Linked DNA regions of Homo sapiens: regions 1, 2 and 3 are each linked to region 4. Evidence: promoter capture Hi-C in human tissues and cell types (Jung and others, 2019). All regions are on one chromosome and are shown on one strand. The core of a region is centred on a gene start or on the middle of the fragment in contact, and the rest is flanking DNA. Distances in the headings are between cores, read along the strand shown.

The links. Contacts are between HindIII fragments. The study calls those that stand out against the background at their distance.
Region 1: the fragment with the promoter of CLPS here is called in contact with the fragment with the promoter of SRSF3 in region 4 in 1 of the 25 tissues and cell types used here (pancreas).
Region 2: a contact is called between a fragment that was not itself captured here and the fragment with the promoter of SRSF3 in region 4, in 1 of the 25 tissues and cell types used here (hippocampus).
Region 3: a fragment that was not itself captured here is called in contact with the fragment with the promoter of SRSF3 in region 4 in 1 of the 25 tissues and cell types used here (psoas muscle).

Annotation. Positions count from the first base shown.
Region 1 is chr6:35,795,590-35,799,588 of GRCh38, forward strand. CLPS (colipase) reads right to left here and starts at 1,734. Exons shown (of 3, transcript NM_001832.4): 1 at 1,616-1,734; 2 at 142-264. The coding sequence starts at 1,699. The HindIII fragment of the contact is 7,222 bases long and covers 1-2,654 here.
Region 2 is chr6:35,603,154-35,607,566 of GRCh38, forward strand. The region is part of intron 5 of FKBP5 (FKBP prolyl isomerase 5); the gene reads right to left. Among named protein-coding and RNA genes, the nearest start is that of MIR5690, 59 kb to the right of the region's middle. The HindIII fragment of the contact is 9,658 bases long and covers 1-4,413 here.
Region 3 is chr6:37,493,428-37,497,821 of GRCh38, forward strand. The region is part of intron 1 of CCDC167 (coiled-coil domain containing 167); the gene reads right to left. Among named protein-coding and RNA genes, the nearest start is that of CCDC167, 4.3 kb to the right of the region's middle. The HindIII fragment of the contact is 5,400 bases long and covers 1-4,394 here.
Region 4 is chr6:36,592,572-36,596,649 of GRCh38, forward strand. It overlaps SRSF3 (serine and arginine rich splicing factor 3), which reads left to right and starts at 1,791. Exons shown (of 6, transcript NM_003017.5): 1 at 1,791-1,910. RefSeq lists enhancers at 1,299-1,458, 1,567-2,248, 1,849-2,078. The HindIII fragment of the contact is 3,355 bases long and covers 1-2,471 here.

The DNA.
Region 1 (3,999 bases), core at 484-2,983, 800 kb before region 4:
GTGCTTTGACACCTGTCGACCTCCCTCTCGTCTCCTCAACATTCAGTGTCCAGGCTGACCCCCCTCCCTGATCCCACTCACAAGTGTTCAGGGCCCTACTCCCCATTCTCCCCCACCCACGCCAAGTCCTCAGGCACCCACCTTGACAGAGCACTCGCTGTTCTCGCTGGCCATGGATGTGCAGCGGGCCAGGCCCAGCGCACTTGAATGCTGGCAGCAATTGCTCTTACACTGGGCACTATTCATGCAGAGCTCACCGTTCTCCTGCCAGGAGCAGCCAGTCAGCCCAGGCCCCACTCCCTCAGGTCCCTTCTCCATTCAGACCTGTACCCACCACACACTACCACTAACAGTGTCTCCCCTGGTAGGGATGTGTGTGAAGGAGTCCATCCCCTGGGTCTGGTGGCCTCTGTGCCCCCCACCCACGTGAGAAGTGGGCATGCGGTGACAGAGAAGCAGACTTGCACAGAGGGTCAGGACCCCTGGGTTCTAGTACCGGCTGTGCTACCAACCTCCTGTGTGACTCTGGGCAAGTCACTGCCTCCCAAGCCTCAGTGTTCCCATTTGGAATGTGCACACAAGGCCCCTAGACAAGTTCTCCAAACCACTCTGGGTCCCACACCTCTTTAAGGAGGCGGTGAAGATTGCATCTCCCTGCAAGACTCCTTCCTCCCCCAACAGATCTGATCTATAATCTCCAAGGGTCCTGGACCTCCAAGTCCAGCCATGGCCCCAAGTTAAGAGAGTTCAGAACCTTTCAACCGCATGGACGTTCTGGAAGGGCTTTCCCAGCCAAGACCCATGGTGGAGAGGTGGTGTGGGGCAGTGGTGGGGCCCCAGCTGAACCACTTTCCAGCTATGTGACCTCAGGCAGGTTGCTCACCCTCTCTCTGTCTGAAGACAGGGCTGACTCTGAAAACACCTCCCTCAGTGGTTATTATGAGAACAGAATGAGTAAACATCTCCGAGGCATCTCCATAAGTCAGAAGCTGGAATGATTGGCGCAAAGCATTTTCTCAGGATGGAAGCCCAGGGCTCTGGATTTTTACAAAGCTCCCTCGTAGGGCCAGGTGAGGTGGCTCATGCCTGTAATCCCAGCACTTTGGGAGGCCGAGGTGGGCGGATCACGAGGTCAGGAGTTTGAGACTAGCCTGGGCAACATGGTGAAACCCTATTTCTACTAAAAATACAAAAAATAGCTGAGCGTTATGGCAGGCACCTGTAATCCCAGCTTCTTGGGAGGCTGAGGCAGGAGAATCATTTGAACCCGGGAAGCAGAGATTGCAGTGAGCCGAGATTGTGCCACTACACTCCAGCCTGGTGACAGAGCAAGACTCCGTTTCAAAAAGAAAAAAAAGAAAAAAAAGGTCCCTCATAGCCAGGTTGAGCTGCTGCTCTGAGCATGCTCCAGTTGGAGCTGGAGAGGGGCTGATCAGCCTTTCCTGTGGCCTCTGGGAAGAGGCATAGGACAGGACATGGAAGTAAACAGAGGGATGCAAGATGCCACTCCTCCCAGCCCCTGCCAGTCCAGGTGGAGACATCAGAGGTCAAGGTCCAAGCTTAGGAAGTCTTCATCTGGGGACTCAGGAGGCGCCTCCCCTGAAGACCCTCTTACCAGGTTGATAATGATCCCCCGGGGGCCAGGAGCTGCATAGGCCACAGAGAGGGCGACAAGCAGGAGGATCAGGATCTTCTCCATGGTGAGTGGGACAGCTGGTGTGGGTGGCGGGAGACAGAGCCAGCTGTGGTGATGGGGCTATAAAAGGGGCCCTGACCTCACGAGATCCACCTGCATCCCACAGGGCTGGCCGTGGGCAGAGGCACAGCTGTGGCCAATCTGCTGTGGGGCGGTTCCTGATAAGGAAACTGGGTGAGTACCTGGTGGCCTTTTTCGTGTGTGTGTGTGTGTGTGTGTGTGTGTGTGTGTGTGTGTTGGTGATAATTGTGTTGCATCGTGGTTAAGAGTATGGACTGTGTACAAGTTATTAGTGAGGCAAACTTACTATCTGTTCCAACTATTCTGCCTTTCATCTTATCTGTCAACTAAGGATAATTTAAAGAGTTGTGAGGGTTGAATTAATACACATTTATGTGTTACATATATATAAACATTATTATATACAATTATAAGAATATATTTATATTGTATATTCCCATATGCCACATAAGCAGTGGGTAAGGGTGGCTGCCCTTGTGTCTTGAGCTCCTGGGCAGTGCCTGGACGAATCCAAGGCAAGAGAGGCACCTATGGTGTGAGTGCCTGCTTACATTCTGTGTACTTGGGGCCTCTCTGCCTCACTATAGTCAGGCCTTGCCTTTGGCCCACCCAAGCCCAGGTGTCTAGCAGTGTCAGACTCCAGGGACGAGGATCCTAGCCTCCCACCCCTCAACCTTCCTTCAGTCTCCTCGGGGGATTCCAGGCCATGCCCAGATCCCTGGGGCTGACAGTTCTGCAACCCCCAGCAGGCCAGGGTGTGTGTGCTTTCACTTTGGCACCCTCCCCCTGCCCTCACACCAGGGGCTGCCTGCAGGCCTGACTCAAGGGCCCTTAGGAGGCCCTTCCTAAATGCCTCTCTCCCCTTTCCTTTCTACCTCACTTACTATCTGCAATTCCAGCATCAGATACTCACCCCTTTAGTTAAGGTTTCCACTCACGCTGCCCCCTACCCAAGGCCACGTGCGCGCGTGAGCAGTCGCTAGTCCTGGCTGAGAATGAAGAGGTCTCATGAGCCTCAGATGGAGCAGGGGCCTCAGGAAGCTGGGAAGGGCACAGCTGCCTGAGTTTGCTCAGGCATGGGAACAGAGCAGCTTTTCCTGAAGGACTAGTCATGGCAGCCAGAGGCCCCTGCCCTTCCCCTCTCCATCCCAGGAGGTAGAAGACAGCTCCACTGAGAGGCCCAGGCCTCAAGCACAGCTTTTAATTTAATTTAATTTAATTTTTTGAGACAAGGTCTCACTCTGTCACCTAGGCCGAAGTGCAGTTGTGCCATCTTGGCTCACTGCAGCCTCCACCTCCTGAGATCAAGCAATCTTCCCCCTAAGCCTCCCAGGTCTAAAACTCGTGGGCTCAAGCAATCTTCCCACCTCGGCCTCCTAAAGTGTTGGGATTACAGGTGTGAGCCACTGTGCCCAGCCTCAAGCACAGCTTTGATCCAGACCAAGCTGGCTTCAAAATTCAGCATTTACTGGAGCTACGTGGCCTCAGACACATTATTGAAAGTGAAGCTCCCTGAACCTCACTTTCCTTATTTATCTTAGGGGGATAACGCCTCCTACTTCCTGAGGTCATGATTAAGACAATGCACGTGGAACACCTTCGGAAGTGCCTGGCACATGGTGGGTGCCCAGCCATGTAATATGACCCCCTTCCTCTCACCTTTACATCCCTGGGGTGTGGAATGTAGAGAAATAGCTGGAGGAACAACCAGGAGACTCTCAAAATGAGAAAAACCAATTTGGTTCCAGCGATGCAGAAATACCATTGATGAAAGAACACTATCCCCCCTCTCTTTTATAGAACTCAATGTTTGAAAGCACTTTTTCCTATGAGTTCACTCTGATCCTTCCTTCTCTTTTCTCTACCTGCTCCCCACCCCCAGGACCTCTGTGAGGTGAGCCACAGAGAAGGGAATCACTATTCCCTTCTCACAAGTCAAGATGGAGACTGGCAAAGGAATCAGAGGAGTGATTTCTCTCCATGAAGGGAGCTGTGAAAACCATCAGCCCTGTCCCTAGTTGGTCTCAGCCAAGCTTGCAAAGAAAAAAGGCTGGAGTTTTTTCCATTACAAATGAAGTGTAGCAAAGAGAACTTTGACACTGTATGTGCTTCTAAAAGGAAAGCAAAAATTAAGTACCTGTCAATGAAAAGAGTCAAACTCTGTACAATATTTGAATAGATTTATTCTGAGCCAAATATGAGCAACCATGGCCTGTGACACAGCCCTCAGGATGTAACCACTGAAGGGGTTCACCTTGCCCACTACCTAGATAGAGCCGATT
Region 2 (4,413 bases), core at 186-2,685, 990 kb before region 4:
TTCATTCATTCATTCATATGTCAGGGTGTCTATCATGTGAAAATGCTGTTGTTAAGTGTGGATATACAGAGACAAACTAAAGGAATGTTAGCTATAATTATTTTCCTGTGCCTAGTGGTAAATTATACCAGATTAAACATGTTTTAGAGCTCTGTGTAAGAAAACATTTACTGGTTCAACACAGAAAGCTGTCAAAGTATGAATAAAATTCTTAGTAGGCAAAGGCAGTATCTTGTACTTCTTTTGTGCCTCACAGTACCCAGCACAGAGTTCAGGGCCAGCAAGTAAATATTTATTTAATGACTAATCTTAAAATAGGGCATTAAGGACAGGGTGGTAATTTTCACTAATTTATACAAATTTTCCTTTTTGAATCTATTAGTATTCCTATTTTAATAAATTCTAGGAAGCTATACAAATTTTATATTGATATGGAAACTTTGTTTTTTAATACTATTCTAAAATAAATGGCCAATTGGCTGGAATTTTTTTTTTTTTTGTAACAACAACAACAGCAGCAGCAGCAACAAAAGACTGTTTTCTTTCTTTTTTTGAGACAGAGTCTCGTTCTGTTGCCCAGGCTGGAGTGTAGTGGCGTGATCTTGCCTCACTACAACCTTCACTTACTGCAACCATCTGCCTCCCGAGTTCAAGGACTTCTTGTGCCTCAGACTCCCAAGTAGCTGGGACTACAGGCCCGCACCACCATGCCCAGCTAATTTTTGTGTTTTTAGTAGAGATGGGGTTTCGCCATGTTGGCCAGGCTGGTCTTGAACTCCCGACCTCAAGTGATCCTCCAGCCTTGGCCTCCCAGAGTGCTGGGATTACAGGTGTGAGCCACCGTGCCCGGCCTCTTTATTGTTTTTGTTTTGAGTTGGGGGTCTCACTTTGTTGCCCAGCCTGGAGTGCAGTGGTGTGATCATGGCTCACTGCAGCCTCACACTCCTGGACTCAAGCTACTCTCCTTCCTCAGCCTCCCTAGTAGCTGGGACTACAGGCACACACCACCACGCCTGGCTATTTTGTTGTTGTTGTTGTTAAGAATGGGGTCTCACCATGTTGCCAGGCTGGTCTTGTACTCCTGGCCTCAAGCAACCCTCCCACCTTGGCTTCCCGAAGTGTTGGGATTACAAGCGTGAGCCACCATGGCTGGCCAGAAAGACTTATTTTCTACTATGATTTTATTCTACCTGAAGACTTGAAGATAACTTTTTGGAAGAAAGAAATTATATAAATCCAAAATATTTGAAAGAATAAACACTGGCCACTTTAGACCAAGTACCATATTACATTATTTTGTGAAAACATATAATAAAATGGTTTCAAGAATTTGCTCCTATTCCTAGACTTATATCCCAGGACATTCATAAATACTTCAAAAGCATATGAAAAACAAAAATGTAAAGTCTCACAGCTCCATCAGATCTCAATATGGGCAGACGTAATCTTTCCTCTATTTTCAATTTTTGGTACCTTTTTGATTTTAGTGTTTCATTTATAAAGAACACATAGCTAGATACTGTTGTTGTTCTCACTTTATGAGACCTTTTGCCTTTAATAGGTGACTTTATCCCATTCATATTTTTTGTAATCACTGATATGAGTGGTTTTATTCTTGTCTTTGGTTTTCTACACAGTGTTTTCTTTTTTTTTTTGAGATGGAGTCTCGCTCTGTTGCCCAGGCTGGAGTGCAGTGGTGTGATCTCGGCTCACTACAACCTCCACCTCCCGGGTTCACGCCATTCTCCTGCCTCCCAAGTAGCTGGGACTACAGGCGCCCGCCACCATGCCCAGCTAATTTTTTGTATTTTTAGTAGAGATGGGGTTTCACCATGTTAGCCAGGATGGTCTCGATTCCTGACCTCGTGATCCACGTGCCTCGGCCTCCCAAAGTGCTGGGATTACAGGCGTGAGCCACCGTGCCCGGCCCGTGTTTTCTTATTTTTTAAAACAATTTTTGCTCAATTGATGAAGTTTTCCTTGTTCCTCTATTTCCCCACTCCACATGGGGTGATTTGGAAATTCTACATGCTATTCTTACTAGTACTTTCCATTAAAGTCTGAACAAATCATTTAAAGATATATATATATACCTCTTTATCAATGTTCAGAATCAATCAGCATAAAGCATTCAATAAAATCCAACATCCCTTCATTATAAAAAACCCTCAATAAACTAAGCATCAAAGGAACATACTTCAAAATAATAAGAGCCACCTATGACAATATCTTTTTTTTTTTTTTTTTTTTTTTTTTTTTTGAGACAAGGTCTTATTCCATTGCCCAGGCTGGAGTGCAGTGGTGCAACCATAACTCACCGAAGCCTGTATCACCCAGGCTCAAGTGATCCTCCTGCATCAGCCTCCCAAGTAAGCTGGGACTACAGGTGCATGCCACTATGTGTGGCTAATTTTTTTTATTTTTAGTAGAGACAAGGTTTCACTATGCTGCCCAGGCTGGTCTTGAACTCCTAGGCTCATGCAATCCTCCTGCCTCGGCCTTCCAAAGTCTTGGGATTACAGGTGTGAACCACTGCACCCAGCCGTCAATATCATACTGAACGGGCAAAAGTTGGAAGCATTCCGCCTAAGAACTGGAAAAAAACAGGGTGTCCACTCTTAACAACTCCTATTCAGCATGGTACTGAGCCACAGCAATCAGTATGCGGCAAGTCCTAGCCTGAGCAATCAGGCAAGAGAAAGAAATAAAAGGCATCCAAATAGGAAACCAGACGTCTACCTCTCACCATATACAAAAACAAACTCAAGATGGATTAAAGGCTTAAATGTAAGGCCTGAAACTATATAAATCCTAGAAGAAAAGCTAGAAAATACTCTTCTGGACATTGCCTAGGCAAATAATTTATGATTAAGTCCCCAAAATCAAATGCAACAAAAAGAAAAACTGACAGTTGGGACCTAATTAAAGAGCTTCAGCACAGCAAAATAAGCTATCAACGAAGCAGATGGACAAACTACAGAATGGGAGAAAACATTTGCAAATTATGCATCTGACAAAGGACTAATATCCAGAAAAGAACTTAAACAAATCAACAAGAAAAAAGCAAATAGCCCCATTAAAAAGTAGGCAAAGGACACGAAGAAGCAGCCAACGAACATGAAAAAATGCCGAACATCACTAATCATCAGAGAAATGCAAATCAAAACCACAATGAGATACCATCTCACAACTGAGTCAGAATGACTATTAATAAAAAGTCAAGGCCGGGCGCTGTGACTCATGCCTTTAATCCCAGCACTTTGGGAGGCCGAGGCAGGCAGATCATGAGGTCAGGAGATCGAGACCATCCTGTCTAACACGGTGAAACCCCGTCTCCACTAAAAATATTTTAAAAAATTAGCCGGGCGTGGTGGTGGGCGCCTGTAGTCCCAGCTACTCGGGAGGCTGAGGCAGGAGAATGGCGTGAACCTGGGAGGCGGGAGTTGCAGTGAGCCAAGATCGCGCCACTGCACTCCAGCCTGGGCAACAGAATGAGACTCCGTCTCAAAAAAAAAAAAAAAAAAAAAAAAAAAAAAAAAAAAAGTCAAAAAAGAACAGATGTTGGCAAGGTTGTGGAGAAAAGGGAATGCTTAAACAGTGTTGATGAGAATGGAAATTAGTTCAGCTCCTGTGGAAAGCAGTTTTGGAAATTTCTCGAAGAACTAAAAATCAAAGTACCATTTGACCCAGCAATCCCATTACTGGGTATACAACCAAAGGAAAATAAATCGTTCTATCAGAAAGATAGCTGGCATTTACACTGACATGTTTACTGCAGCATTGTTTGTGTGTTTGTTTGTTTTTTGAGACAGAGTCTCACTCTGTTGCCCAGGCTGGACTGCAGTGGCAGAATCTCAGCTGACTACAACCTCCACCTCCCAGGTTCAAGCAATTCTGCCTCAGCCTCCCAAGTAGCTGGGACTACAGGCGCCCACCACCACACCCAGCTAATTTTTGTATTTTTAGTAGAGGCAGGGTTTCACCATGTTGGCCAGGCTGGTCTTGAACTCCTGACCTCAAATGATCCACCCACCTCAGCCTCCCAAAGTGCTAGGATTACAGGCATGTGCCACCACGCCCAGCCTGTTTTGTTTTGAGACAGGGTCTCGCTTTGTTGCCCAGGTTAGACTGCAGTGGTATAAATGTGACTCAAATGATCCTCCCACTACAGCCTCCTGAGTAGCCGGCACTACAGGCATGCACCACCATGCTTGGCCTTTTTTTTTTTTCTGTAGAAATGGGGTCTTACTATGTTGCCCAGTTTGGTCTTAAACTCCTGGGCTCAAGTGACCATCCCACCTTGGCCTCCCAAAGTGCTGGGATTACAGGCATGAGCCACACACAGCACTTACTCTTAAGCACAGTTATATTCTTAATAGCAAAGACACGGAGTCAACCTAGGTGTCCATCAAT
Region 3 (4,394 bases), core at 854-3,353, 900 kb after region 4:
AATTAAGATGCTGGCAGACAGCCACTCCACACACGCCGCCATCCAGCCGCGCTAGGTAATGAGGTTTTAGTCTCCTGACCCCCGTCAAGTGGCGCAGAGCCAGATGTAGGCTGCCGCGAGAAATCACCTGCCCAATGGCGACCTGTCGCTCTCGCCTGGCAGCAGGTGAGGCTCATTTAATGGTCAGCGGCCCCTGAACAGTCCTCTGCGTGCTGCGAGCCTTTCTCCCAGCCCCTGGCTTGGGGTTCAGGGTCCCAGCAAGGTGGCGTCTAACCGCCTGCTCTACTGTGACCTCCACTCAACTGGGCCCAGACGTCAGGGTGGAAGGTTCAATGCCTCCTCCTGCCAATCGAGCCAGTTCAGCAAATATTTATTGACAGTCCACTCACCTGCTCCTAGCCCTTGTCTCAGGAAAGTGGGAGGTTCCCCTGAGCCCTGTGCACAGCCTGCTCCAGAGCGGAGACCGTCTTCAGCCACACTTGGTGCTTCTGCCTGCCCTGCCCCACGGAGGCTACTGCAGTGGCTGGCACCATACAAATAACCACAAGCGTCAAGCCTTCCGGTGCTCTTCCTGGCCTAGGCCATTCTCTCCCCTCAGCCTACCACTTCTCATGGTCAGTGATCCTGCCTTTTTTTTTTTTTTTTTTTTTTTTTTGAGACGAAGTTTCCCTCTTGTTGCCCAGGCTAGAGTGCGATGGCACCATCTCGGCTCACCGCAACCTCCACCTCCCAGGTTCAAGCGATTCTCCTGCCTCAGCCTCCCGAGTAGCTGGGATTACAGGCATGTACCCCCATGCCTGGCTAATTTTGTATTTTTAGTAGATGGGGTTTCTCCACGTTGGTCAGGCTGGTCTCGAACTCGTGACCTCAGGTGATCCGCCCGCCTGGGCCTCCCAAAGTGTTGGGATTACAGGCGTGAGCCACCGCACCCAGCCGATCCTGCCCTCTTTTTCTGGTAAGGATTCCAGTGAATTTTCAATGACTCCCATTAGCATTTATTCCTTACAGCAGATACTGTCAACTGGCCAACACAACACCGACTCCCCACCCCTGCTCCTTTGCCCACCTCTACTCCAGAAGGTGGAAAAGCTCAGCAGATGCTCTCCCAACCTCACTGCAGCTAGGCTTGCTCATGACCCAGTTCTGGCCAATGAGACGTTCCAGAAGTCAGCTAGGAGACTCCTGGGGAAGCTTATGCTTTGTTGATAAAAGGGACAGTGTTGTTCCTTCCTCCTCCTTCCTGAGTTAAAGTTGAATATTAGACTGGAGCTGTGGCAGCTATATTGTGACCATGAGGAAACAGTGAAGAGAATGCAGAAATACCAACTCTGACATAGCTAAGCTTTTGAACCAATGCCAGTAGCCACCTACCTACAAATTTTTTTTTTTTTTTTGAGACGGGGTCTCTGTTGCCCAGACTGGAGTGCAGTGGCACGATCTTGGCTCACTGCAACCTCCACCTCCTGGGTTCAAGCAATTCTCCTGCCTCAGCCTCCCGAGTAGCTGGGATTACAGGCGTGTACCACCACTCCTGGCTAATTTTTGTATTTTTAGTAGAGATGGTGTTTCACCATGTTGGTCAGGCTGGTCTCGAACTCCTGACCTCAAATGATGCACCTGCCTCAGCCTCCCAAAATACTGGGATTACAGGCGTGAGCCACTGCACCTGGCCCCTACAAATTTCTATAAGGGGAAAAGTCTACTCCCATTTGCTTAAATCATTGAGGTCAGTTTTCTATAACTTGTAGCCAAAAGCTTTCCAAACTGATAAACTTTCTGTACTAGGGGTCAGATCCAACCAAGTTATCCACTTTAGGATACCGGCTAAGACACCACACATCTGTTAACTCAAGACCAACTGGTCACTGAAACATCTAAAGACACCAGTTTGAACAGTCCAGCTACAAAAGAAAAGTGCAATGACAAAGGAACAGCTCATTACCATCAGAGATCCGAAAACACAAACAGGTTTTACATCAGTCAAAATTCTCCTATCAGTTTAGACTGAAATTCAACCTTTCCTTCCTCCCACACAACATTAAAATCAGTACTGGGTGGGTGATTTCTCATTTGAACTATAATTTTCTTTTCTTATTAAGAATGAAATCTCAGAAGCTAAAACTCACAGTTTTTTCCAACTCTGAGATCTCATATGGTGGCAAATGAATTGGATAAAAAGACCTCAAAAGGAACCACTTTGAGGGGGAGGCTAGAGGGTGCCCTGGTTGTCCTAAGAGGTGGCTGCTTATACAGCTGGCCCAAGCCAGCCCTAAGGGTGAGTGCTGCCTGCTTGGTAATTGCTTCATTACAAGTGGAGACTGTTTGCAGGTGCTGAGATCACTCACTTGTGGGGGTTTTATTGCACTCGTCAGATTAACAAACATTTTTGATTAAATCACCACTTCATTGGCTCTGAGCACACAACTTTTAATAAGAGGACAATATCTACTGCTACTGAGCATCAGTGCACATTCAATACTCAGACCCGCTGGGGGCAACTGAGAAGCAAGGTGGGGAGACAGCCAGCCAGATGTCAGGCTTTTTCCAAGGCACACGGTTACAGATGTCAAATCTTCGAATATCCAAGCAAAAAGTAAACTTAGGGACCAAGATAGCAAATATAAACATCTACCGTGGTATGGAGAGGGTAAAACAATGGAATCTGCCCCAGTATAAGGCACTTGGAGAATACATGCCCCACCAAGTTTAAAAACGTAAAAATCCGGCCGAGTGTGGTGGCTCACGCCTGTAATCCCAGCACTTTGGGAGGCCGAGGCGGGCGGATCACTTGAGGTCAGGAGTTCAAGACCAGCTGGCCAACATGGTGAAACCCCGTCTCTACTAAAAATACAAAACTTAGCTGGGCATGGTGGTGCACGCCTGTAGTCTCAGCTTCTCGGGAGGCTAAGGCACGAGAATTGCTTGAACCCGGGAGGCTGGAGGCTGCAGTGAGCTGAGATCATGCCGCTGCACTACAGCCTGGGCAACAGAGCAAGACCCTGTCTAAAAATAAAATAAAATAAAATAAAAACTTAAAAGTCTGTCAGCCAAACAGAAGACATCTGTGATCTGTATTTGGGCCATAGTCAAGGAGTTTGTAACCCCTGGTGAAATTCAAGTCCTTCATGTTATAGATGAGTGAACGAATGCCCAAGAACGAGTTTGACTTAGCCATGGTGGAAGGATGCAAAAGAAATACAAAGGCTGGAGCTACCATGTATTGATTACCAATCCGGTGCCAGGCACGTGCTGGGCACTTAACGCAATGTCTCATTTAATCCTCACAACCACACTGTGAGGTGAGGTGCCATCTGTAGTGAGACTACAGGCTGTCTGTGAAAACACACTGGTCTCTTCCTCCATAGTAAGCAAACAGTAGCTGGCTATGTGGCCTCCTGACTGGTGAACGCATTTCCCTGATCCCTTGCAGTCAGGTGGGGTTTTAGTTCTTGCCAATGGAAAGTGGACAGTTTGGGCCCAGGACAGTGGGTGTGCTTCCTCCATTCTCCTCTTTCTCTGCCGGTGGACACATCAGTGGGGTATGCCCCGGTTCCACTGATAAGGTGACAAGATCTCAAGAGATGGTGAAGCCACAGAGGAAGGGAATCTGGCAGAACCACCATAGACCTGGTACTCTAGACCAGGAGTTGGCAACTAAGCCCTGTGGCCAAATGGTCTAAGGACTGTTCTTGCAGATAAAGCTTTAGTGGAACACTGACACACCCACTTATTTACATATTCCTTCATTTACATACTCCTACCTTAGCCTGAATACAGTTGGTTCTTGTTGTTCCTGGTAGCTATGTCCTATAAAGTTGCCTCTAATATTGAATTAGCAAATACCAAACCAGGTGAGGTTCCTGCAAGCCTATGGACACAACATTTTTGCAACCTTGTTTCATGTGTGATTCTGTTTAAAGTGACCTTATTCAATATATATTGTTGATTCATTAACACTGGACTCACAACCAACAGCACTATACGTGCTGTTACATCATGAGTTATATCATGCCTGAACAGTTTATCTAAAAAACCTGTTTTCTTCTACAACACATCACAGCCTTCTTGGATTTAGGAATGCCAGACAGCACTTCAGCCCTATGCTTGGGGTCGGGGGTCGGGGATCGGGGGCACTTTAAACAGCAAAATCAGGCAGTGGCTCACACCTCTAATCCCAGCACTTTGGGAGGCCGAGGTGGGCAGATCACCTAAGGTCAGGAGTTCGAGACCAGCCTGGCCGACATGGCAAGACCCCCGTCTTTACCAAAAATACAAAAATTAGCCGGATGTGGTGGTGGTCTAATCCTGGCTACTAGAGAGGCTGTGTCGGGGGAAGGTGGGGGTGAACACTTGAATGGGAGGTGGAGGTTGCAGAGCCAAGAGTGCACCACTAC
Region 4 (4,078 bases), core at 541-3,040:
GGGGGCTGGGGCCAAATCCAGGACTGCCTGACTCCAGAGCCTTTGATTTGATAGAAGGAAAGAAAATGAAAAAGAGGAGAAAAGCTTACATAGAGGAGGGGAACAAATCAAGGCAAATATAAGTGAGCCAGAAAAAAAAATCTAGACGAGAGAGAAATAAGAAAAGGTTTGCTAGGATCCCCTTCTCCCCTTTTACAGGTGAGGAAACTAGGCTGAGATGTAATAAATCTGTATTTTTTTCCTCCACTACAGATAAACCTTTTAGAACCACAATAAGAGGTAAGGCTTCAAAAGAAAAATACCTGGGAAAGTTAAAACATATTAATTGGCTGGCCGGGTGCTGTGGCTCACGCCTGTAATACCAGCACTTTGGGAGGCCGAGGCGGGAGAATCGCCTGAGGTGGCGAGTTCGAGACCAGCCTGACCAGCATGGTGAAACCCCGTCTCTATTAAAAATACAAAAATTAGCCGGGTGTGGTGGCAGGTGCCTGTAATCCCAGCTACTCGGGAAGCTGAGGTAGGCGAATCGCTTGAACCCGGGAGGCGGAGTTTGCAGTGAGCCGAGGTCGCGCCATTGCACTCCAGCCTGGGCAACAGAACGAGACTCCATCTCAAGAAAAAAAAAAAAAGAAAAAAGAAAAAAAAAAACATAATAATTGGCATATCTTTCAGCTAAGAGGGAATAAATAAAAAGACAGGTTCTTTTTCTCTCTTTTTTTTTTTGTGCAGTGGTAGGATCTCAGCTCACGGCAACCTCCGCCTCCTGGGTTCAAGCGATTCTCCTGCTCTCAGCCTCCCAAGTAGCTGGGATTACAGGCGCCTGCCACCATGCCCGGCCATTTGTATTTTTAATAGAGACGGGATTTCACCATGTTGGCCAGGCTGGTCTTGAACTCCTGACCTCAAGTGATCCGCCTGCCTCGGCCTCCCAAAGTGCTGGGATTACAGGCATGAGCCACCGCGCCCGGCCCTTGGTGATTTTTCTAACCCAATCACAGTCTCTCTCCCCTTAATTACTCTTGCGGCTCTGTCTTCGTAAGGGAAGTGGCCCGGACAAAATACATGCCAGGCAGTGCAACGGCTGCTAGGAGAAAGGCTCGAGATACCCCTCCTGGCATTTGCTTGGGGGCCAGAATTTACATTCAATCTTCTTCAGAAACTTCCCTTTCCGGGTGTTTGCTAAAGGTGATAGTTTCCAGGTCACCTGACCGGTCTCCTTTGCTGTCGGCGCCAAGTCCTGCAAGTTTGCTTGAGAGACGAGAAACCAGCAAGAGTTGGGCAAACTTTCCAAACCAGGCTTTTCCTTCAGTGTGGAATCTAGGCGGCCACAGTCTGGTGCCAGCTGGGTCACAAACAGCTCCGTGACCTGTTTGTAAACGCGATGCTCTTAGTTCCAGACTAACCGCTCACAAGGGTGAAGCACTTAATTAATTCATCTCTTAATCTTGTTAGGGGCCAACGGCTCCTATTAGTGTTTGAGCGTGACGGCGACGGTGCTGTTTATGAAGCCCTAGCCTATTTGGAGGTGAGGAAGAGGAGTCTGTGGGTAACCTGGAGGTCGACAGACCGGGAGGAACGCTCGAGGGAGCACCAGGCCTGTTACAACGAGCGCGCGCCGACGCACGTCTCCACCCACCCGGCGCAACCGCCAGAGCGCGCTCCCAGCAACCGCGGCTCTCGCTGCGTTTGTAGCCATACGTCACGGCCTCTTCTGCTTCTCATTGGGGGAGCCCGTCCAATCATGTGATTCCAGTATGGCGTATAAATAAAGGCGAGGAGAAGGCGGTGGTCCGCCATTTCGTGGACGCCGGGTGAGTGAGAGAGTTGGTTGGTGTTGGGCCGGAGGAAAGCGGGAAGACTCATCGGAGCGTGTGGATTTGAGCCGCCGCATTTTTTAACCCTAGATCTCGGTAAGAGACCAGCGAAAGAGGGAATGAGGTGGAAATGGAATTTAACAGTACCAAGGAGCCAGGCCCAATGGCGGCGCCAGATTGAGACAAAGAGGCGCCGCCGCCATTTTGTGACGTTCAGCACGGGGCGGTGGCGGGGGCTCCCGGCCCATCGGAGGGTTTCCTAGTCTTGGAGTGGAAGTCTTTATATTCCTCATTGGGGCATGAGCCAGGATGGGGGTTACCTGGGAGTTGGGAACCACAAAGGGGAGCCGATAGCCGAGTTGTATTCCAGGTCACGGCCTTTTTATTTTTATGGCGCCTTTTTTTTTTTTGGCCCCTCATTTAATTGGGAAGCTTCTCAGAATGTTTTTGTAAAGTCACTAACCAAGACCGGACCTTTCAGTTCATATTAAATGGCCCCCGTAGTCACCTTACTTTCATGTAGTTTCAGATTTTGCAGCCTGAATCTAATCACCTTTTTCTAAGACCGAAAGATCTTCCTTGAACTTAAGATTCGTTCTTTCATCGCTTCCCATTAAAATGGAGGCTTAAGACAGGTGCCAGCAGTGTTTTTAAAAATTTTCACCAGTGGTTTGGTCTTAGAACTTACTCCTGGGCACAGGGTGTGGTCACGGCAAATAGGATGTGTCTGGACTGGATATTTTAATTAGACAAGCCCAGAGTAAGAAGAACGTGGTGTTTATGGAAAGCACTTCAGCTGAATTATTGAGTAGATGGTTTTTATGTAATTGAAACTGGTCTACAAGTTTATCAGATTCATCGTCGAAGTGACTCAGTAATAAAGCTTTATCAAATACAAGTCCGCCAAGGAAGAACAAAAAAATAAGTCCCCAAAGTGCAGTAAATTTTTTAGTAGCAAATATCTCTTTGTAATTTTTTATTAAAGTGAAATTATCTTTAAGTGGTATTTAGTATATTCAGTGTTGTGTAATCATCACTTACACGTAGTTCCAAAACATTTCCGTCACCTCCCCCCGCAGGAGACTACTACCCATTGAGCACTTACTCCCAGATTCCCTGTCCCCCTTCCTCTAGTCCCTAGCAACCACTAATCTTCCTGTCTCTCTGAACTTAGCTATTTTAGATATTTAGTATTTATGGAATCGTGTACTTTTATGTCTGGCTTCTTTAACTTAGCGTAATGTTTTCAAGATTTTCCAACGTTGGAGGATTTGTCAGTACATCATTCTGAATAATACTCATTTTATGTCTATACCACATTTTGCTTATCCGTTTCTGTTGATGGACATTTGGGTTAACATCTTTGGGCTACTGTGAATAAGTGCTACTATGAGTTTACATTTTTTAAAAAACTGTAAAGTTGGTCTCGTTGCTTGATAAATTTTTACCGCGTAAGACTCTGGTCTATCTAATGACATTTGATACTAGCCTTGTTCCTATAGTTCCAAATGACCAAAATAGGCATTTATTTATTTATTTATTTGTGGTTTTTTTTTGGCGATGGAATCTCGCTCTGTCGCCGAGGCTGGAGTGCAGTGGCGCGATCTCGGCTCACTGCCACCTCCGCCTCGCGGGTTCAAGCGATTGTTCTGCCTCAGCCTCCCGAGTAGCTGGGACTACAGGTGTGCGCCACCATGCCCGGCTAATTTTTGTATTTTTAGTTGTGACGGGGTTTCACCATATTGGCCAGGCTGGGTCGAACTCCTGACCTCGTGATTCGCCCGCCTCGGCTTCCCAAAAGTTCTGGGATTGCAGGTGTGAGCCGCCGCGCCCGGTCCATGGGCATTTTTTTAAAAGTGAAAATCGTTGGCCTTATTTTTATTAAAGCTGGTAAGTTTTGGCTTATGTAGGTACTTTGAATCGCTTGCCTGGTAGTATAACCTTAAGGACTAGCTTTCTTCATCATTGTTTTATTTAGTTTTGAGTCCCCAACAGAATTCTCTTCTGTTTTTCTAGAAATGCTTTATTTTGGGGATTAAATGAAATAACAGGTTAAGTCTCTTAACTCACGGCCCAGATGGTGGTAAATGCTCCTCCAGTTGTTCTCAACGTTCCAAGGAAGCTGTTTTTTTCTTCACTAATTGCTGGCTTCCTGAGGGTTAGGAGTAAAGATAATGGGGCGGGGTGGCGGGGGGGGGGAAATGGGTGCTTAGCAGTAACATTTCTTGTTTGGTTTCTAGCATTTTTGTAATTTTTTTTTCTTT